7 separate regions of the Homo sapiens genome follow, and all the other regions are linked to region 4. Evidence: promoter capture Hi-C in 16 types of primary human blood cells and fetal thymus (Javierre and others, 2016). All regions are on one chromosome and are shown on one strand. Each heading gives the region's core, a stretch centred on a gene start or on the middle of the fragment in contact. The rest is flanking DNA. Distances are from core to core; before and after follow the strand shown.

Region 1 (2,926 bases), core at 98-2,597, 970 kb before region 4:
GCATAGCCCCAGCCTAGAATAAAGCCTTTCCAGGACTAGGCCATTTAACTCTCTCCTGCAGCAAATATAACACCTTTGAAAGTCTACCTGGCTCTTTTCCCAACCGCCAAATATACAAAAAGCTCTACAGCCCAAACTGAGGCTTTGTGCATGCCACTTCATGGAGCATGCCTTGCATCAACAAATGGGATAGAGTTGGAAGGAACAGTAAGAGACAAATTACACACAGCACGCCCAGTGCTCCATTATCAGCACATAAATGTGTCCTTCCATAGAGACACAGCAGTGCACAAAGCTGCATGTCCAATAATATTTGCTAAATAGGAGAACTGAAAATTAGTACGTAAGTAGGCAAGTCCACAAGTAGCCAAGAGGTTGAATCATTTTTGGCACAGCCATATAATGGGATGCCAAGTGACTATCAAAAATGACTATCAAAAACTGACAAGCAAAGATATTAACTACTGAATCCTTTGAGAACATTCAGCAAAAAGAAGTCAAACTCACTAACACACAGGCTAAAAACAAAACAAAACAAAAAAATTGGAAGAAAAAACACCCAAGTATTCGCAGTGTTGTCATTTAACCAGTTCTTGAGCTCACTGTTAAACAAGAAGTACTCTGTAAAGGAGTATATAAGGTGCCTACTGCATTACAAACATTTGGTTCTAAGTAACGTGTAAGTGAAATAATTATGAATGTTGCTTAATATGATGTAATAGGCAGCTTTTCCTTATTATGACCACTTTTATAAGCATTATTTGTATTAACTGCACGATATCCTATTTACAAAGGATGGCCTGTGATCCACTCAAGTGTTTCCCCATTGCTGGACATAGAATTTGAACATATAAAATGTTCCCAAGTATAAGTTTTTCTAAACTAGCGGTTCTAAGTCTTCTGGGGTCTTGTAACTCTCTGAGAACCTCATGAAACAAGATTTCCTCTCAGATTAAAAAAAAAAAAAGGCACGCATAACAGTGAATGCAAAACATCCGCAATTTCAGGGGGTCGGAGACCCCTGCGCACCCACCTAAGGGGTCCATGCACCTGGGCTATGAGGCTGGAAGCAGAAAGGGGGCGCCAGAAAGCGCACGCCGCGAGGGCCGGCGGGAAATGTAGTCTCACGCCGGTAAAGCCACAGAGCGACGATGAGGCGAGACGTCTGCGTTCTTCTCAGGCCTGAGACCCAACCGGCCCGGGCACCAGCTCCTGCTGGACCCCAGAGCGCCTGGAAAGCTCCGGAACCTCTCACCTGCCGCCTCCTCGGGTCCAAGTGCCACCGCGGCCGCGCCCCCGGCAGCCCAGGGCGCGCTTCCACCACGGTACCGGTGGATTCGCCGTGCGCAGCCGGAAGATGGCGCAGACGCACAAAGCACACCGATGCTGCGCCATGATAGGGCCGGCGCCGCAGTGTCTTCCGGGAAACATAGTCTTTAGGCGTAAAGGCAGCAGCCCGGCCTTGAAGCCGGATCTCGCGATGTTTCAGGGTGAGCCGGACGCAGGCGTGCCTGCGCAGTGCGCGGAGGAGTGCTGTTCGTGTGTTCGAGTCCCTGGGTTGCTTCCTGGGGTCTGTGGTGCTGGGTGTGCTATCTGCGTGTGATTCTCTAGCGAGAGATTGTGGGCGAGTGACCGAGTGGGCAAGGGGCCGTCACTGTGTGTGCGTGATTTTGACAGTGTGTGGTGGTAGCTTCTGACTCCGCGTGGGTCGTTGAATGTATGACTGGGACCGTTTAGCGGTGGATACACAACTGTGTGCGGCTGTGGAAGATTGCCTCATCCGTTACGTTCCCATTTCCGTGGAACAACAGTTTTACCAGAAGGTTTCGAAGGAACCTTAAAGTTTGGAAGCGTAAGAGTTTATCTGGTAACTAATTTTAAACATTACATCTATGGTGAGTTAAATGTGGGTTATGAAGGAGAACGCAAAATAAAAACGTTATAAAGATGTAAAGGAGTTTTATGGGGCGGCATCTCTTGGGCAAATATCAGACCGCCGTAGGTAGTTGTTAATTCTCTCTTGTTTTTAGGCGGCTTTGGTGTCATCAAATGTGAGAAGCCCTGGACTTTACACATCCCGAGCCAGTGTGATCCAGTATGATTGGGAGTCCGAGTGCCAGATGCCGGTCAGGACCTGTTATGCTGGGTCTCAGAATGCGGAAACTCTCCCTGTCCGAGGTGGAACAGTTTGTCCTTGAGTGAGGACTGGAGTCCTGAGTGACTCTTTTGATTTGATCCTGTTTCCCTCAAACCTGGTGAGCTCTATGGTGTAATAAATGGTTAAGAGTGTGAACCCTTAACCATCTCTAAGACTGGAGCCAGAATGCCTGAACTCCAGTCTTAGAGATGTGCCTCGGTCTCCACATTTGAAAGTGAGGATGATTGTGGCATCTAATTCATTGAGTTGTTGGGGAGGAGTAACTGATATGTAAAATAATGCTACTGCTGCTGGATAAGGATGCTAATATGACTGAAGCTAATGCTTTCTTTCTGCAAAGATGCTTTTTCCAAAACACACCATATTGCCTCTTTACACATTCTTCAGGAGAGGGTAGAGGCTGCATTTTCCTTGTAGGTGCGGTGATGTGGTGGAAAGCACACTTTTAGAATTAGACAGATGTGGATTCAAATAGCATTTCAGCCATTTATTAGTTTCTTCGTGCCTATCTCGGTTTTGTTTTGTTTTTTTTTTTTTGTCCATAAAAGGAAGAATGTAATGCTGGGCTTGCAGCTTTGTCCTGAGGGTCAAATAAAATGATTTAATAATATAAGCAAAGCTCAGAGGTTGGTTATTGCTGATTACTGATATTAAAAGACAACTTCAGCAAGGATGGTTGAATTTCACACTTGTGAGCGGACAGTTGAGGAGACAGTTGTAGATTTATCCTACTTGACCTTATTTGTGGTTCAAGACAGTGTTGCGAGT
Region 2 (3,241 bases), core at 463-2,962, 950 kb after region 4:
AAAGGGGTCTCAATAAAATCTTTTCCGCATATCATGCAAAAATCACAGGAGCCCTTTGCACAATTTATTGCACAGTTACAACAGTCAGTGAGGCATCAGATTCCTCATACTGCTCCTGCGAAAATGCTTACTTTGACCCTAGCTTTTGAAAATGCAAATGCAGATTGTAAATGTGCATTAGCACCCGTGAGATGTACAAACAGCTTGGGAAATTTTCTCAAAGCCTGTCAGGATGTGGGAACTGAACTCCATCGTTCAACTGTGTTAGCTCAAGTAATAGCTAATTTAGTAGTGAACAAATCTGAAAAGGGCCAAGGGTTGAGCCCTAAAGTGGGAAAATGTTATAATTGTGGAAAAATTGGACATTTCAAAAAAGAATACCATCAGACCTCTGGGCAGAAGGGATCTTACAATGCAATACCGCCCCCCCCTCCCCGCCCCGCTCCCCCCAACACACACACACAGAAAAAAAAACACCAGGACTTTGCCCTCGCCGTAATAAAGGAAATCATTGGGCTAATCAGTGTTGCTCAAAATTTCATCAGAATGGCACCCCGCTCTCAGGAAATGAGAATGGGGCCTGGGCCCCTCAAACAATGAGGGCATTCCCCATCCAGGCCACAACCCTGCTACAGGGGTGGGTTCCTGGAGGAACATTGACTCCCTCTCCTCTGGAACACCGGGGAGTGCAGGATTAGATCGCTCAGTCAGAGAATGGGTCACGTTAGTTGGAGGAGACAAACCCACCAGAATTCCCACAGGCATTTGGGAACCTTTGCCAACAGGATATACAGGATTAATTTTAGGCCAAAGCCATCTGAACTTACAGGGCATTACTGTGATCCCTGGATTGTTGACTCTGATTATGAAGGAGAAATTCAAGTAATTGTAATGTCACAAGATCTTTGGGTTTTTAAACCTGGGAAATATATTGCTCAGCTATTGCTTATTATTATTCTCTGCAAATTACACCCTTCTTCACGAAAGGAGAAAAGAGGAAATCAAGAATTTGGGAGTACAACTACACAGGAAATTTACCTATCCCAACCCATAGCTTCTAATTGACCCACCTGTGCAGTGCAAATTAAAGGAAAGAAGTGTTGTGGGTGTATGGACACAGGAGCAGATGTTTCAGTAATATCCAAAAACAATTGGCCCCTGCTACTAACCTCTGCATCCTTAGTGGGAGTAGGAACAGCTCAAAGTGTTTAACAGAGTGCTGAAATTTTACTTTGTGTCAGTCCAGATGGACAGCCATGTACTTTTCAACCTTATGTTGCAAATATACGTGTTAATCTCTGGGGCTGAGATTTACTTACAGCATGGGATGTGAGACTTACAAATGAAAAGGTTGATAATCCAGGATTTAAAATATTGAAGGAAATGGGATATCAGAGTGGGAAAGGCTTGGGAAAGTTCCTACAGGGAAACCCCGGTCCGGTATCGGTAACTGGGCAAACAGATAGGAAAGGGCTAGGTCATCAGGATTTCTGATAGGGGTCATTGATACTTCTTCTCCACCCACTGCCTTGCTGCTAGAGTGGCTGACTGATAAACCTGTGTGGGTGGATCAATGGCCCCTATCACAGGAGAAAACTGACTCAACTCCATCAGCTGGTAAGAAAGCAATTGGATGCAGGACATATAAAAGTATCAGTTAGTGCTTGGAATTCACCAGTATTTGTGACCCCCAAAACGTCAGGAAAATGGCAACTGCTGCATAATTTGAGAGCTGTTAATGCACAAATTAAACCAGTGGGTGCATTACAGCAAGGTCTGCCATCCCCGGCAACCATTCCAAGAGATTAGCCTCTTGTAGTAATAGATCTTAAAGACTGTTTTTTCACTATACCATTACACAAGAAGGACAAGCCTCAATTCGCCTTCTCTGTGCCTTCTATTAATCAGAGAGAGCCTGTCTCTTGTGATCAATGAAAAGTTTTATTACCCCAGGCATGCTCAACAGTCCTACGTTATGTCAGCATTTTGTAGGAAAAGCATTGAAGGAGCCTCGGAATATGTTTTCCACCACCTACATCATTCATTATATGGATAATATTGTTTTGGCCACTCCTACAGATCAAGTATTATACCAGTTATTCAGAGAAATAAAATGGGCTTTAACTAAATGGAATCTCAAAATAGCTCCTGAAAAGGTACAAACAACCTCCTCATACCAATACTTAGATACTACTGTTACTGAAAAAAGTATTCAGCCTCAGAAAGTAGCTCTTCGTAAGAACAAATTACAAACTCTGAATAACTTAGGGGATATTAATTGGCTGCGCCCAATGCTAGGTATTGCTTCTTATCAACTCACTCATGTTTATCAAACCCTCCAAGGAGATTCTTCATTAGATTCCCCTCGGCAACTTACTAAGGAGGCAGAAGCTGAATTACAGCTTGTAGAAAGATGCTTCAGCAACGACATGCCTCCTGGCTACAACCACAAAAGTCTTTGGTTTTGTTTATTCTTCCTACCCCCCATTCTCCATCAGGACTTTTAGCTCAATTCATAGACAAAACTATAATGGTAATAGAATGGCTTTTTTTATCCAGTCAAACAGTAAAATCTTTGCAAGTTTATCTTGCTTTAGTCACACAACTTATAACAATAGGCAGGCATAGATCAAAAATGCTTACAGGATATGATCCTGATAAAATTATTGTTACCTTGGATTCCCAACAACAGGCTGCGGCCTGGGAGATGTCCACTGCATGGCAAATCACTTTCGCAGATTTTGTAGAAATAATAGATAACCATTATCCATCAGACAAAATTTTGCAGTTTTATAAAATTCACCCTTTTATTCCCCCTGTGATTGCTCATCACAAACCCATTTCAGGTGGACAGACCTATTTTACCGATGGCTCTTCCAAAAGCCACACAGCCATTTATGGACCTAAATATACTTAAATAATAAAGACCCCTAGAGTTTCAGCTCAACACTCTGAATTAATGGCAGTTATTCAAGTTTTAAAGCTCACAGCTTTATTTCCTATTAATATTGTCTGTAATTCAGCCTATGTCGTAAATGTAGCTAGTTGCATTAAAACTGCCACTATCAAGAGTGTACGGACCAGCCCCACAGGGTCGGTGGGTCTCTCCCTGTGTGCGGCGACGAGAGAGTGTAGAAATAAAGACACAAGACAAAGAGATAAAAGGCAGCTGGGCCTGGGGGACCACTACCACCAATGCGCGGAGACCGGTAGTGGCCCCGAATGTCTGGCTGCGCTCTTA
Region 3 (2,871 bases), core at 23-2,522, 840 kb after region 4:
AGCGAGGTACGGGTGGGCAGCAGTAGTTCAGAACTAAGTAGGAAGATGGTTCTGAGGAGGTGACGTTTGAGCTCAGACCTGAATGGGAAAGGCGAACCAGGTGAAGATGTTGGGGAAGGTGAACCAGGCGAAGATGTTGGGGAAGACTATACCAGGCAGGAGGGTGGTGCACATGTGGATCTCTGGATGAAAGGCCATATTCTAGGAAAACTAAGATGGTGGCTGTGGGAGACCCCTTTAGCGTCAAGGACATGAAATAACAGGGTTTGGAACCCGGCTCCTTTGTTGCCCACTATGTTAGGCCGTTCTTAAATTGCTGTAAATACCTGAGACTGGGTTATTTATGAAGATAAGAGATTTAATTGGCTCACAGTTCTGCAGGCTGTACAAGGGTGGCACTGGCATCTGGTTGGCTTCTGGGGAGGCCTCAGGGAGCTTTTTACTCATGGTGGAAGGCAGGGAGCAGGCACATCATGGGAAAAGCAGCAGCCAGAGAGAGGAAGAAGGTGCCGCATACTGTTGTTTGTTTGTTTTGTTTTTTTTTTTGGAGACACGGTCTCACTCTCACCTAGGCGGTAGTACAGTGGTGCGATCATGACCCACTGCAGCCTCGACTTCCTGAGTTCAAGCGATTCTCCCACCTCAGCTTCCTGAGTAGCCAGGACTACAGGCACATGCCGCTACGCCTGGCTAATTTTTTTTTTTTTTTTTTTTTGTGGAGATGGGGTTTTGCCATGTTGCCCAGGCCGGTCTAGAACTCCTGGGCTCAAGCGAACCACCTACCTCAGCCTCCCAAGGTGCTGGGATTACAGGCGTGAGCCATTCTGCCCGGCCACACTTTTTTAAACAACCAGATCTCGTGTGATTAACTTAACCACCAGGAGGATGGTGCTAAGCCATTCTTGAAGGTTCACCAGGCCCCACCTCCAACACAGCATCACTTTTCAACCTGAGATTTGGTAGGGACACAGAACCAAACCGGATCATCCACTCTGCAACCCTGGGCAGGGTTCCTAGCCTATCCCAGCATGAATTTCTTTTTTTTTTTTTTCTTTCTGAGATGGAGTCTTGCACTGTCGCCCAGGCTGGAGTGCAGTGGTGTGATCTTAGCTCACTGTAACCTCCACCTCCTGGGTTCAAGTGATTCTCCTGCCTCAGCCTCCCAGGTAGCTGGGACTACAGGTGCCCGCCACCTCGCCTAGCTAACTTTTGTGTTTTTAGTAGAGACGGGGTTTCACCATATTGGCCAGGCTGGTCTCAAACTCCTGACCTTGTGATCTGCCCACCTCGGCCTCCCAAAGTGCTGGGATTACAGGCATGAGTCACCGCACCAGGCATATTTCTTTTGTGTATGGTGTACATTTGCTTCCTGGGACTGTGGGCAGCCTTCGTGAAATGATGGTACTGTCATTGATTCAAAAACTGAGTAACGTAAAGATGATCAGCAGCCTTTGGCAGATCCTCTACTTAGGGGTGTGAGATCCACAAGTCCCAGTTGGCAGCCTCAGTGGTACACTGGAGGAGACAGATGCAGAAGGTAATCCAACAGGGAGCTTAGGGGCACTGAGGGAATGATGAGAGAGAACAGGAGAGCTGAGAGCTTTCCAGACAAGGAGGAAAAGTGATGGGGTACTGTGCCCAGGGATTAGGGGAGCTGAGGGTAAGTACTCTTCTGACTTTTCCCCCACAAGCTGCTAAAAAGATCATTGCTTTTCGTTATATTTTGGACTGGTATACCTGGCTAATCAGCATTCACTGGCAAACAGCACTGTGAGGAAGACAGCTGCCTAAGGCCTGTTTGTCACCCTGGAAGGGAAGCAGCAGAGAGGTAGAAGTATCCTGAGAGAAGAAAATAGTGTCAAGAGGGAGAAAGCAGCAGCTCCCATCAAGCCCTTACCACATGCTGTGCCTGGACTTTGGTATCTCATCACTTTGGGTGAAGAAACTCAGGCTCAAGAAGTTAATCTCTCTTGATTAAACCCCTTGCTTTGAGCCTCAGTGAATTTGTTTCACAACCCATTAGACAGACAGTTGTAGGTGAGGTGACTACATTGCTACGGGCTCATTCAGTTGCTGGACTGAAAGCCATTTGGAGCTCCAGCTGATAGGGATTATGCAGCTCCACATGAGTGGGTTGGGTCAGTCATGTCTGTGGAATGAGATGGGTGGAATGAGAATCCAGTTCCACCTCTGCCTGGTGGTGAACTTAAGAGCTTCCATTTTCTCCTCCATGAAGTGGAGCAGCTAATTTCCTGCAATAGACAGTGGTAAGGATTGCCCTAAAGGTCTTGGGATAGTCTATGGGTTGACATTTGGAGGACTGAGGTGCACAGAATGAGTCCATCACTTCCTCACCAGTTTCTGGGTTTGTGGTCTCTCTGTTCACTGTGGTGTCCTTGGTTCCACAGCATGCAAAAGGTGCTTTATGATAACTGTGTACAGAACAGAGTGTGGGGCCTCATGGGTTAATAATAAAGATTAAAGCAGAAGTAAGTACATTAGAAAGGGGTGGGGTGGAGTAGAAGAATCCAACAGTTGTTTTCCTAGGGGCCAAGGCATGAAAATCCCTCGATTAAGGAATACAAAAATGAAATTTTAGAAATTTATGAAGTAACGTTTAAGATGTTTAAGTGTCATGCATGGTTACCTAAAATAGTACTGGTGGCCCAGTGCTGGTCTGCCACTTAGCCCCCCCCCAGGAAGTACAGATTCAGTTGGTGCATGTCCCATGTCCTAGGCACTTAGTCCGGTGCTGCTGGGCCTCCAGTAAATCTTATCCCCAGCTGCTTCTCAGGAAAAATTCAAGCCTTAAGAGCTGTAATTGGGCTGGGCACGGTGGCTCACACCTGTAATCCCAGCACTTTGGGAGGC
Region 4 (2,949 bases), core at 442-2,941:
CCAAGGAAGGTCACTATCACATCCTGCCGGATAAAAGGCCAAACTGCCTCAGGAACATCTTACGCACATCCTTTGGCCGGGTGCTGTGGCTCACGCCTGTAATCCCAGCAATTTGGGAGGCCGAGGCGGGCGGATCACCTGAGGTCAGGAATTCCAGACTGGCCTGACCAACATGGTGAAACCCTGTCCCTACTAAAAATACAAAAAAATTAGCCGGGCGTGGTGGCACGCGCCTGTAAAGCCAACTACTCGGGAGGCGGAGTTCAAGAATCGCTTGAACTCCGGGAGGCGGAGGTTGCAGTGGGCCGAGATCACGCCATTGCACTCAAGGCTGGGCGACAAGAGCGAGACTCCTCCAAAAACAAAAAAAAACCCACCATCCTCCTGGGCAGCAAGTCATACCCTCCCGCCGCGCCCCCTGCCCCCCACCCCTGACCCCTCTCATCCAGGCCTATAATTGCCCCAGCCTGTAAGCAGTGAGGGGTTCTGGCACTAAGCTAGTTCTCCCCATCACAGGTCTCGTGCTGGACATAAAACCTGCATTGCTGTAGAGCTGCCAACTCTGCCTTTCTTTAACCCTCGCCTTCCCTTCAAAACCTAACAGTTATTATTAATAGATTTCTGTAATTTTCATTTCACAAGTATTTTCACAGATAATTTCAACTCCCTGTAAAATGATAACTCACTTCTCAGGAAGGAGATAAGATCATGAAAGTTCACAGTTTTTATTGGGGATAATACGTTCCCTGTGTACATATACTCCAACTATGGAATGGCACAAAATGTCCTGTCAGGAAATGGCATGTATCAGTCACTCTCATTTTCAGACAGGATTGAGACTTTTAAAATAAATGTAAAATATTTCAGACATGAAGTAATAAGTATTATTAGAATAAAAGCATTGCACTCTTGGTAGGAACACAATCACTGACTCTACAGACAGTAATGATGTTTTCTTCTGGATCCAGAGGCACAGCGTCACCCTTTCAATCTACGTCGGTATCTCCTGTCTTCTTTTGTGCAAATTCCCAGCCATGTAGTCTTTCTTTGTTCTCTTGGACCAACCATATTGAAGCTTAATAAATAGAAGTCAAAGTTTAACTGTATGTGTATTTGAAAAGCAACATATGGCTGAGAGGCATGAGTAGAGACAGAGTGCCTTTGTGGTATAGTGTGTCCCTTTGGCGGTGTAGCCGTTGAGAACTTGCTGTGCTTCACAATCCGATATCATAGGTCCCTCACATTTCTGTGAGTATCCTAGACCTTACTTCAAGAAAATCTGGTTATGTCGCCTTTAAGAGCAACCCAAGCCCCGTCCTGTCCGTGGAGTCCGGCACTCTGTTTACCAGCTCCCCTGACGGTGCCACTGAGCCTCTATCCGCCATATAAGGACTGACCAACGCTCTAAGGCAAGTCCAGAAGCGGTGTCGAAACTTCATAACCCAGAAGACACTGCGGTTCTCGGCAGCGCGACTGACCCAATGAATGTGCAGGAAGGAACCTTTGCGTGCGTGCGTGCGTGCGTGCGTCCGTCCTCGTGCTCGCGCATCGTAGGAGGGCGGGACTTCCGGCGTCCTCTTGCCGTGGTTGATTTGATTTTCTCTGGTGTTTTCACTAGTTCCGGCCTTTGGCGCTCTATGACGTCACCGAAGTGACGGAGCGGAAAAGCGCGAGAAGCGGCTTGGTTCCTTGTACGCAGAGGCGGTAGTGACACAGGCACAACTGACAGTGGCAGAAGCTCAGCTGACAAGGACTGGGGACGGCGGTGTCCTTGTCTTGCCTTTGTCGCCCCCGCCCCTCTCTTCCCTGGCTGGACTTGCGGAGTCCCCGCCGAAGAACCCGAGGTGGGTGCCCCGTCCCAGGCCCCCCCCCACCTCCGCCCGACCCCTCCTTCCAGTGCTGAAGCCCATAGAAGGGGCCCTGCAGGTCAGGCCCCTTGTCTCGAAGAGAGGGGCGTTCCTGTGTGGGGTCCCCGTATCAGCTGGTTTGATGCAGCCTCAGAGCTCCCTTCGGGGATCTCAGGTTCAGAGCATGGAGGTGCTGCCAAGTGGGCCGCGTCGGGGAGCCCGGAGTGTGGGTTGTTTCTGCGGGAAAGAGAGGGTTTTGTGAATTTTCTCTTGGAATGGCAGCCTGAGCAGCCGGTATAACCATGGAAGGTTGTCAAGGGAAGACCAGTGGGAGGGGCAGGTCCAGAGTTAGAACGAGCAGGATGGGGAATTGACACAGAGAGACCCAGAAGAGGCCACTGCAGTGGATCCCAGAGGCTGCACCAGAGCCGTGGTATAAGAGGGACAATGTGATGGGATTCTGGATAGACCTGGAAGATAGAGCCAACAGGTTTTCCTGCCGTATCAGATATGTCTGTGAGCAAAAATAGGGAGTGAAGGGTCATTTTTTTTTTTTTGCCCGAACATCTGAAAGAATGAAGTTGGGGAAGTCAGCAGCATGAGAAGTAGGTTTCATGGAGAAGATCATGGGTTGGAGTTTGGCCAGTGTGATTCTCAGGCGTCTCAAGTTGAAAATGTCACATGGGTAGGGGGACAGAAAGGTGTGGAGTCTACAGAGGAGAACTGGTGTAGATTCTTCAAAAGAATAGAGGGTGGCCGGGCGTGGTGGCTCACGCCGGTAATCCCAGCACTTTGGGAGGCCAAGGCGAGCGGATCACAAGGTCAGGCGTTCAAGACCAGCCTGACCAACATGGTGAAACCCCGTCTTTAGTAAAAATACAAAAATTAGCCGGGGGTGGTGACGCGCGCCTGTAATCCCAGCTATTCGGGAGGCTGAGGCAGGAGAATTGCCTGAACCCAGGAGGTGGAGATTGCAGTGAGCCAAGATCGCGCCATTGCACTCCAGCCTGGGCGACAGAGCGAGATTCCGTGTCAAAAAAAGGTGCGGAGCGCGGGTCTCTTCCGCGGAAACTGACATTGCGTTTCCGTTGTCGGCCTCCCG
Region 5 (3,122 bases), core at 573-3,072, 920 kb after region 4:
ATGTCCTCTCATAATTTTGTGTAACTTGCCTAACACCTGCTCCTTCTCAGGAACGAGGCCCAGCAAAAAGCAGAGACGGTACAGGGCCAGAAGGATCTGAGAGAGTGTGGCCAGCTTGAGCCCTCAGGAGTCGGCCAGAAGGATCTGAGAGAGTGTGGCCAGCTTGAGCCCCTCGGGAGTCAGCTCCTCCGTCCCCACTGGTAACGTCTTCACCCCTTCAACACGGTGTGAAGGGCCATGTCATGGTTGATCTTCAGTCCCTCAGACTACACCATCAGCCCCATGGGGGTGAGCAAATAACAAGTAACTATACTGTTCCCTGCTATGTGTCTGGCTCTTGGTAAAATTTAAAAAAGTTAAAAATTGTTGTGGTTTGAATGCAACATTTTTGAATGGAAATCTGCTTCCCCATTTTTCTTTTTTAATAACTTTTTATTTTTTTTTTGAGACGGAGTCTTGCTCTGTCACCCAGGCTGGAGTGCAGTGGCCTGACCTCGGCTCACGGCAACCTCCGCCTCCCAGGTTCAAGCGATTCTCCTGCCTCAGCCTCCCGAGAAGCTGGGACTACAGGTGCCCGCCACCACGCCGGGCTAATTTTTGTATTTTTAGTAGAGACGGGGTTTCACCATATTGGCCAGGTTGGTCTCGAGCTCCTGACATCGTGATCCACCCGCCTCGACTTCCCAAAGTGCTGGGATTATAGGCGTTAGCCACCGCGCCCGACCTTTAATAAACATTTTAATGGACTACAACAGACCCACAGAAAAAGACACATCACAAAGTGAACACCCACAGGGAGAAGCAATAGGGCTGTCAGAGGCATTCGACCCAGAGCGACTCCATTTTGAGTGAGGGCTAGGAAAATGAGGCTGGGCTGCATTCCCAGAAAAGTAGGTATTCCTAACCTCTAGATGTTTACGGTTAAGGGAACAAATTAATAATGGGTACTAAAACAGACCCAGACTTGGGAGTGTCCAGATATCCCGGTATCTAGAGAACAAAGGCATTCCTAATTTTGCTTTAAAAATAATATCGATTCTTGAAAAATACAGTAAGAAAATTAATCCTTTTTCACAAACCCTTGTAGCAGAGCACATCTCCCCAAAATCTATTTTTAGCCCAAATATACACAAGCATTGTACCTAGGGTGCATACGTTCCTCTTACTTTCAGGAACGTCCTACTGTCTATGGGGTAGCTGTTTCACAACTTTACTTTCTCAACAAACTTGCTTTTACTTTGCACTGCGGACTCGCCCTGAATTTTTTCTTGCGCGAGATCCAAGAACCCTCCCTTGGGGTCTGAATCGGACCCCTTTCCTGTAACACAACCACCGCTCCCAGCCTCCCCGCTTCCAGCCGCTAAGCCCAAAGTCTTTTATATGAACAAACCTCTAACTCGTCCTGTGACTTTGATGCGTGTGCGTTTTAGGCACCGGGGAGCAGAGGGTAAAGCGGCGCAGCTCCGGGCCTCCTCCCGCGCAAGTTCCCGAGAAGAGCAGGTCCGGCCCGCGCAGACGTGCACGGTCCCCAGCCATTAGGAGGAGCAGACGGTCCCCACCCCCACAATCAGTCATCTCTCGGGGTCCGCCCTTGCTTCCTGCCCACGAGTGAGGCCTCTGGTTGCCCGCAACCTAAGGGGCATCGCAGCCCCGAGCAACACCGCCCCCACCAGCCTTAGCTGAGTGCTCCCATTGGCCAGAGGCCAGCGGGTGGGGGCTCCCATTGGCCATCGGCCATAATGCTTCCATTGGTCGAAGGCCAGACCAGCGGAGACTCCCATTGGCCGAGGGCTGTGGTTCGCCGCACGGCCTACTGGGAGTTGTAGTCGCCGCGTCGCCGGTGCGGCCGCCATTGTCCGGCGTTCGGCGAGTCGGGTGGTCCCTTTGGCTGGAGTGCCTCTCTGGTCTGGGGATCACCTCAGGCGCTGTCCTTCACTGGGCGATCCAGCATGGACCCCGAGGACGAAGGGGTAGCGGGAGTGATGTCTGTGGGGCCGCCGGCGGCCCGGCTTCAGGTAACAATAACAACAATAACGACGGCGGCGGGCTCCGGGCAAGCGTCTCCCGCGCAGACTGACCCTTTCACCTCGCGGCGCGATGAGAGCGGCACCGCTGTTAATGCCCTTGACACGTGGGGAAACTCAGACGCGGGTCGGGGCGTGGTGACCGTCCTGGCTGGTCAGAGAGGGGGCCGGGATTCCAACCAGGCGCCTGGCCCCCGAATGCGCATGCTCCACGCGGCTCTGTCCTCCCCAGGGCTGGGGTCGGTCATTCCCGAGAGAATCGAGCAGGCCCATCTCCTGCGTTCTGCTCCGCCCCGCCGACACCCTTGCCCATTCCAGGAAGGTCTGTCCTCGTGTTGACTGATAACAGTAATTGTAGCGTTGGCCGGGTGCCCAGATGGCAAGAATCATCGAATAGAGATGCTTTAACGCGTGGAGTCAGCGGACACCCACCGGGACCCCAGCACCGCGGAGCCCCTGCCCTGGGGCTTGGGCACAACCTCTTGGGGGCAATGATGGGTCACCACGCACTGAGTGTGATGAGAGTGACCACCAGGGTCGTCCCCTGCGAGACTGTGGGAGAACTGCAGTGCAGGGCGGTCAGTGTTTGCAGGGCCATCTGGCCATCAGAGCTCCACTTTCTAGACAAAGTGGTTGCGGCCTGTGTTCTCCATAAAGCTGCCTCGCGTGGCAGGAAACAACAATAATTATCCTTCCTCAAGCTCTGCAACTTTGAAATTATACTTTTTTTTATTTTTTGTCGTTGGTTTGTTCATGGGGATTTGCATTATTTCAGATTTGGTACACAAAGTGAGACTTGATAATCTTAGGTTGCAGGTTTTCAGATGTGTGTTGCTCCAAATTTGCATGAAATGCTACCACGTTTTATTTTGTTCTTGCTGTGGATGGGGGACAAGGAATGAGTCGTAAGAAAGGCTTGAGAGAAAGTGTATTAGTTACCTGTTGCTGTGTAACTCAAAACTTCGTGACCTGGAACAACAATAAATATCTCACGAGTTCTGACAGGAGTAATGGAATGTCCTAGCTGGTGGTTCTGGTTCAGGCCCATGAAGTTACAGTGAAGATGTCAGCATAGCTGTTGTCACCTGAGACCTGAGT
Region 6 (3,215 bases), core at 455-2,954, 860 kb after region 4:
GCAGTGGCGTGATCTCGGCTCACTGCAAGCTCCGCCTCCTGGGTTCACGTCATTCTCCTGCCTCAGCCTCCCAAGTAGCTGGGACTACAGGTGCCCGCCACCATGCCCGGCTAATTTTTTGTATTTTTTTTTTGAGATGGAGTCTCCCTGTTGCCCAGGCTGGAGTGTGGTGACACAATCTCAGCTCACTGCAACCTCCACCTCCCGGGTTCAAGCTATTCTCCTGCCTCAGCCTCCCGAGTAGCAGGGATTACAGACACACACCACCATGCCCAGCTAATTTTTTTGTATTTTTAGTAGAGACGGGGTTTCACCATGATGGCCAAGCTGGTTTTGAACTCCTGACCTCAAGTGATCCGCCCGCCTCGGCCTCCCAAAGTGCTAGGATTACAGGCGTGAGCCACCGTGCCCGGCCTAATTTTTTGTATTTTTTAGTGGCGACGGGGTTTCACCATGTTAGCCAGGATGGTCTCGATCTTCTGACCTCGTGATCCACCTGCCTTGGCCTCCCAAAGTGCTGGGATTACAGGCGTGAGCGACCGCACCTGGCCAATGAACTTTTTAAATTGAGACAGGGTTTCACTCTGTCATCCAGGCTGGAGTATAGTGGCAAGATCATCACTCCCTGCAGCCTCAACCTCTTGGTCTCAAGTGATCTTCCAACCTCAGCCTCCCAAAGTTCTGGGGTTACAGGTGTGAGGCATTGTGCCCAGCCATAACTTTTAAAAGATTTTCTTCCCTTTTATTTAGACATCAAGGTAAAAGTAACTTTTTTTTTTTTTTTTTTTGAGTCAGAGGCAGGCTGGAGGAGTGCAGTGGCACCATCTCGGCTCACTGCAACCTCCACCTCCTGGGCTCAAGCCATTCTCCTGTCTCAGCCTCCTGAGTAGCTGGGATTACAGGTGCCCACCACCACACCTGGCTAGTTTTTGTATTTTTAGTAGAGACAGGGTTTCGCCATGTTGGCCAGGCTGACCTTGCACTCATGACCTCAGGTGATTCACCTGTCTCAGCCTCCCAAAGTGCTGGAATTACAGGCATAAGCCACTGTGCCCAGCCAAAGGTAACATTTTTAATGTAACAATATATGGTCATTCTTTGCTCTTATGACACAATCCTACAAAAGGCGATCACTAAGCTTAAGCACTAAGCCTAAAACTGAATAATATAAACACTGATGTAGGGAAAGTTGTTCCTCAGACGACTCCATTATTGATACAGACATGGAAACAGTAAACAGAAATGTAACATCAAAGTTCTTATTTACTTGAACTTTTTTTTTTTTTGAGACGGAGTCTCCCTCTGTTGCCCAGGCTAGAGTGCAGTGGCGTGATCTTGGCTCACTGCAAGCTCCGCCTCCTGGGTTCAGGGCCATTCTCCTGCCTCAGCCTCCCAAGGAGCTGGGACTACAGGCTCCCGCCACCACGCCCGGCTAATTTTTTGTATTTTTTGTAGAGACGGGGTTTCACCATGTTAACCAGGATGGTCTCGATCTCCTGACTTCGTGATCGGCCTGCCTCAGCCTCCCAAAGTGCTGGGATTACAGGCGTGAGCCACCACTCCTGGCCTGAAATTTTCTATAATAAAAACAAACAAGATCATTTATTATCTCATAATGAAAAGTCCCTGAGGTGAGCATAGGCAATGTTGATTCAGTGGCACAAAGAGGATTCATTCCATCATGGATACTGGTTCTTTCCATTTTTCTGCTGTGCCATTCTCAGCATGTTGCCTTTACCTCCTGGGGTGGCTTCCTCATGGTGCCAGTGTGCTTGTAATTGTCCTACACATCACATACAGACATCACGGTCCAGGGGCAAAAGAAGACACATTGCTATCTTATGTCCACTTTTAAGACTGAGGGAACCGGCCGGGAGCGGTGGCTCATGCCTGTAATGCCAGCACTTTGGGAGGCCGAGGCGGGTGGATCATGAGGTCAGGAGATCGAGACCATCCTGGCTAACAGGGAGAAACACCGTCTCTACTAAAAAAGAAAAATTACAAAAAATTAGCCGGGCGTGGTGGCGGGCGCCTGTAGTCCCAGCTACTCGGGAGGCTGAGGCAGGAGAAAGGCGTGAACCCGGAAGGCGGAGAGTGCCGTGGGCCTAGATCGTACCACTGCACTCCAGCCTGGTGGACAGAGCGAGACTCCGTCTCACAAAAAAAAAAAAAAAAAAAAAAAAAAAAAAAGACTGAGGGAACCTTCCCAGGAAACCCCTAGCAGCCTTATTTCTCCTTGGCCAGAATATCCTTGCCTAATTCACACAGCAAGAAGCTTGAGTCCATTCTGATTAGCTTAGAATCCATCAAGATCCTCCCTTAGGGAGTTAGATTCTAGATTTCCCGGAAGAATCTAAAAATTGCAGGGTCGTGCTAGCCAGGTATGAAAATAAGCAAGTAAAAAGATGATGACTGTTGGGTAAAGCTATCGACAAGGTCAGCTACAAAACAGTCAAGCCAAGGAAGGCTAGTCACAGATGCACCCCAGACACAAAAGCACAGTCCAGGAGCTGAGGGTGCCTGAGCCACAGTGGTTCCCGCCTACCTGGCCTTCGTAGGAAAGTTTCCTGTGGTCTCCCTCATTGAAGAGCCAGGACGGGTCAGGCGGTGGTGGGTCTCAGACATTGAGCCCCACAACGCACTGAGACTGAACATCAGACCATTTATAATAACAGAACTCTGTCCCACAACTTCTGCAGCAATAGGTACAAAACAGAACTTGGTCACTGCCAGCCTCCCTATTTTTTTCCCTGTCCCACTTAGGAGCTACCACAGAAAGCCAAATAGGCTCGACTGAGCGATCACCTAGGACGAATCGCCTCCAGTTAGCGTGCTTCCACCTTCCACTCGGAATGCTCCAAGCAGGGCACTCCCGGGGCTTTGTTTCTATCACTAGGACGCGTCCCCACGCCCAGGCTGTCCCTGAGTCCCTGCCACAGGCGCAGATGTTGGCGGGCGCCCTTGCCCCTGAGCTCCCGGTTAACGGCCTTGGACTGTTCTCATGGCTCAGTCTTGGTCTCTCTCCCCAGCAGGGCAAGGCGCCGGGAAGGCACCCGAGATGACAGCGCCGAGCCCCATAGGCGCTAGTCCCGCCCTGGACGCCGACCGCCGCCTCCACAGTCTCGGCTTCGGTTGCTGGATGAGAACCAGCGTGGCCCGTTTAAGGGGGAGGGGACAGGCGCTGCAAGGAGCAGAGCCGCGGGAAGCAACTCCCT
Region 7 (3,234 bases), core at 291-2,790, 960 kb after region 4:
GCCAAGAAACACCACCAGCACCACCAAGCAATCATACACACCCTGCCTCAAAAAGGCCTCACCTGAACATAGGCTGGGCCACCAACCTCTATGTATCGGGCCCCAAGCCAGAGTCTCCTGCTCAATGTCTCTTACACATACACACACACACAGAGAAGATACATTCTCACACACAGTCCAGGCATCGACTGAATCACACAATCACACTACCATTCACAGTCACCGTAACAACATCACACACAGTCTAGGGCCTTTATACTGTGTCAGGTCCACCCCATTACCTCTAAGTATCTGTCTCAGACACAATTACACCTGGTGCAGGCAAACACAGCTGCATGATTATCACATATGATGATTAAATCACAGGTCACACACACGCAGAGTAAGCACACAGAACAACCCACAAACCTGGTCACAGAGTGACTCATGCAGACAGACGCCCAGCTCAAATTCAGTAAAAAATGATACACATTTATAAAAATGATTACATGTGTTCACAGAGAGCCACACATAGCTACACTCAATACACACCCTGACATAGGCAACCACACCGCTCACCTCTCACAAAGGCACCTTCAGTACTTACACAGACACTCACACCCACAAGCCCTCAGACAGGCACCCTCTCCCCTCACTCCTAACATGGGCACCCTCACCTCTCACCCAGGTACCCTTGTTACTGGTGGAGGGTGTCCAGGTTCTTGGCATCTTGAACAAATAATTGGACAAAATGCACAAAGAAAAGAATGAAGCAACAAAAGCAGAGATGTATTGAAAATGAAAGTACACTCCACTGTATGGGAGCAGGCCGGAGCATAGGGGCTCAAGAGCCCGGTTACAGAATTTTCTGGGGTTTAAATACCCTCTAGAGGTTTCCATTGGTTACTTGGTATATGCCCTATGTAAATGAAGAGGACGAAGTAAAGTTACAAAGTGATTTACTCCATGTACGCCCTGCATAAATGGAGAGGATATTTCCTACCATAGCTGCAGTTTCCATTTGATTTACTTCTAGGAAGTCCTTAGGTTCCCTGCCTCCAGACCCGATTTTCTTGCCTCACCCTTACCCCTCACCCCTCACACAAACACCCTCAGCCCTCCCAAAGCCACCCTCAGCCTCACACAGCCGCCCTCACCCTCAGCCTCACACAGGCACCCTCAGCTCTCACACAGGCACCCTCAGCCCTCACACAGCCGCCCTCACCCTCAGCCTCACACAGGCACCCTCAGCCTCACACAGGCACCCTCAGCTCTCACACAGGCACCCTCAGCCCTCAGCCCTCACACAGCCGCCCTCACCCTCACCCTCACACAGGCACCCTCAGCCTCACACAGGCACTCTCACCCTCAGCCTTCACATTTCCCTCACCTCCAAGTCCCGCCTTTCGCGCATCGCCTGCTGCTCTCCCACTCAGCGCCACCTCAGTCCCACAAAGGCCGGGCTGGGATCCTGTGGCCTCCGTGCTGACCAACGTCAACTACAATTCCCAGCAGGCACCGCGCCTGGGTACACTTGAGCTTCCGGAGGACGCCGGGAATTGTAGTCCTGGCGGGCGTGGGCCCTTGAGGTGTGCTGGGAGCTGTGGTCCGGGTCGGCGGGCGCGCAAGTTGGCTAGTCTCTGCGGCCACCTCCGGAAGGGTCCGCCGGCTGTGCTGGTGAGGTGGGTTTCGGGGGTGTTCTCCGTCCTGATCCAGGCTGGAGAGGGGCACAGCAGGTCCAGAAGCCGCGAACCTCTGGGGCGGCCAGAGCGAGATGCGGGGTACCGCCCAGCGGGTAGAGAGTGAGAGGCTGACTAGGGGACGTGAGTAGACGGACTGCGAGTGCCGGACACACGCGCAGAGGATGTGACGGACTGACGGACCAGGCGTGGACGGACCGTGTGTGCACGGACTGACGGACCCGGTGTGGACAGACTCACGGACCGAATGTGGTGCGGAATGACACACTGAGTGCCGGACGGACCGACGGAGAATGTGTCGGACTGACGGAGTGTGTGTCGGATGGACTGATTGACCGGGTGTGGGGCGGACGAAGTGTGGAGCGGGCGGACAGATAACAGATAAAATGTAGGACCAGTGGCCTGGGAGGGTGTGGGGCGGACCCGTTTATGTGTCTGATAGGCGGTTCTGTGTCTGACACCTCTTGGGTGTGTGTATCTGACGGGTTGGAGTGTGTGATTCTGATAGGTTGAGTGTAACACTAACCATGGAGTGTGTGACTGACAGAGATGGTTGCCGTTTGAGACTTCCTACGTGGGTTGTGAGATACTGTGAGAGGGTGAGCGTGTGACGGTGGGATTTCAAGTGTGACTGATTTTCTTTGTGTGTCCTTGAGATGGTGACTAAGATTATGAATGACTGTGATCAGAATAATACTGTGTGATGGAAATGCTGCGAGGGCCTGTGTTTATTTTTGAGACGGAGTCTTGCTCTGTTGCCCAGGCTGGAGTGCAGTGGCGCAATCTCGGCTCACTGCAACCTCCATCTCCCGGGTTCAAGCGATTATCCTGCGTCAGCCTCCCGAGTAGCTGGGATTACAGGCACCGGCCACCACACTTGGCTAATTTTTGTATTTTTGGTAGAGACGGGCTTTCACCATGTTGGTTAGGCTGGCCCGGAACTCCTGACCTCAGGTGATCCACCTGCCTAGGCCTCCCAAAGTGCTGGGATTATAGGCATGAGCCACCATGCCTGGCCAGGCCTGTGTTTATTTGACTGATTATAGGTGACATTGAGATATTTCCTGTGTCTGGGTATTTTGAAGGCTGTGGCTGACAGACTGTACCTGAGATAATATGTGTTAATATCTGATTGACTGAGATTTTTATCAGGGAGACTAAAACTTGGGTGATCCACAAACAGTTTACCAAGCATATGAGAGAGGATTTGTGCTTTGCCATGTCTGCAGCTGAAACTGAGTGACTAGTGGTCATTCAGCTGGGCTTATGGATATGTCCCCCAGTGTTTGCTTACGTGTAGCAGGGGGCTATGGTATCCATACATCTACTGCATGTTTACTGTGCACCAGGCCTGTGCTGGACACTTATAATAAATCACCTCACATAATCTCATAGCAACCCTCTGAGGTAGGTACCATTATCAGGCTTGGTATAATCCATGTGTGAGAAATGAAAAGAACCACCCTCCTTGGTTGGTAAAGCAGCTGTGGATGGGGAACCTCAACCTGATAGGAGTTGAGGTTGGCTGAGGAGGCTGAGGAAGTTTCACATACAT

What was found. Contacts are between HindIII fragments. The CHiCAGO score rates a contact against its expected background, and 5 or more counts as called.
Region 1: a contact is called between the fragment with the promoter of ZNF582 here and the fragment with the promoter of ZNF547 in region 4, in 8 of 17 cell types (naive CD8 T cells, naive CD4 T cells, total CD4 T cells and 5 more). The highest score is 16.3, in naive CD8 T cells.
Region 2: a fragment that was not itself captured here is called in contact with the fragment with the promoter of ZNF547 in region 4 in 1 of 17 cell types (fetal thymus); the score reaches 5.3 in fetal thymus.
Region 3: a fragment that was not itself captured here is called in contact with the fragment with the promoter of ZNF547 in region 4 in 3 of 17 cell types (naive CD4 T cells, non-activated CD4 T cells and naive CD8 T cells); the score reaches 7.3 in naive CD4 T cells.
Region 5: the fragment with the promoter of ZNF8 here is called in contact with the fragment with the promoter of ZNF547 in region 4 in 1 of 17 cell types (non-activated CD4 T cells); the score reaches 5.8 in non-activated CD4 T cells.
Region 6: a contact is called between a fragment that was not itself captured here and the fragment with the promoter of ZNF547 in region 4, in 1 of 17 cell types (non-activated CD4 T cells). The highest score is 7.5, in non-activated CD4 T cells.
Region 7: the fragment with the promoter of ZSCAN22 here is called in contact with the fragment with the promoter of ZNF547 in region 4 in 1 of 17 cell types (neutrophils); the score reaches 5.7 in neutrophils.

The regions. Positions count from the first base shown.
Region 1 is chr19:56,392,187-56,395,112 of GRCh38, forward strand. It overlaps ZNF582 (zinc finger protein 582), which reads right to left and starts at 1,348. Exons shown (of 5, transcript NM_001320371.4): 1 at 1,034-1,348. It overlaps ZNF582-DT (ZNF582 divergent transcript), which reads left to right and starts at 1,490. Exons shown (of 2, transcript NR_037160.1): 1 at 1,490-1,867. The HindIII fragment of the contact is 9,401 bases long and covers 1-2,926 here.
Region 2 is chr19:58,307,185-58,310,425 of GRCh38, forward strand. All of the region lies in intron 2 of ERVK3-1 (endogenous retrovirus group K3 member 1), which reads left to right. All of the region lies in intron 5 of ZNF8-ERVK3-1 (ZNF8-ERVK3-1 readthrough (NMD candidate)), which reads left to right. Among named protein-coding and RNA genes, the nearest start is that of ERVK3-1, 3.4 kb to the left of the region's middle. The HindIII fragment of the contact is 5,065 bases long and covers 1-3,241 here.
Region 3 is chr19:58,200,478-58,203,348 of GRCh38, forward strand. The region is part of intron 4 of ZNF274 (zinc finger protein 274); the gene reads left to right. Among named protein-coding and RNA genes, the nearest start is that of ZNF274, 19 kb to the left of the region's middle. The HindIII fragment of the contact is 4,047 bases long and covers 1-2,871 here.
Region 4 is chr19:57,361,860-57,364,808 of GRCh38, forward strand. ZNF547 (zinc finger protein 547) reads left to right here and starts at 1,692. Exons shown (of 4, transcript NM_173631.4): 1 at 1,692-1,844. It overlaps TRAPPC2B (trafficking protein particle complex subunit 2B), which reads left to right and starts at 1,692. Exons shown (of 2, transcript NM_001355204.2): 1 at 1,692-1,844. RefSeq lists enhancers at 1,245-1,324, 1,365-1,744. The HindIII fragment of the contact is 1,910 bases long and covers 1,074-2,949 here.
Region 5 is chr19:58,277,133-58,280,254 of GRCh38, forward strand. It overlaps ZNF8 (zinc finger protein 8), which reads left to right and starts at 1,823. Exons shown (of 4, transcript NM_021089.3): 1 at 1,823-2,015. The coding sequence starts at 1,950. ZNF8-DT (ZNF8 divergent transcript) reads right to left here and starts at 1,610. Exons shown (of 3, transcript NR_187495.1): 1 at 1,391-1,610. ZNF8-ERVK3-1 (ZNF8-ERVK3-1 readthrough (NMD candidate)) reads left to right here and starts at 1,834. Exons shown (of 7, transcript NR_144447.1): 1 at 1,834-3,122. It also overlaps a transcript of ZNF544 not described here. RefSeq lists enhancers at 1,899-1,948, 2,369-2,418. The HindIII fragment of the contact is 22,069 bases long and covers 1-3,122 here.
Region 6 is chr19:58,225,539-58,228,753 of GRCh38, forward strand. No RefSeq gene overlaps it. Among named protein-coding and RNA genes, the nearest start is that of ZNF544, 1.8 kb to the right of the region's middle. The HindIII fragment of the contact is 1,137 bases long and covers 1,137-2,273 here.
Region 7 is chr19:58,325,454-58,328,687 of GRCh38, forward strand. ZSCAN22 (zinc finger and SCAN domain containing 22) reads left to right here and starts at 1,541. Exons shown (of 3, transcript NM_181846.3): 1 at 1,541-1,661. LOC105372480 (a long non-coding RNA gene) reads right to left here and starts at 1,795. Exons shown (of 3, transcript NR_144444.1): 1 at 1,370-1,795. RefSeq lists enhancers at 1,426-2,168, 1,512-1,841. The HindIII fragment of the contact is 13,061 bases long and covers 1-3,234 here.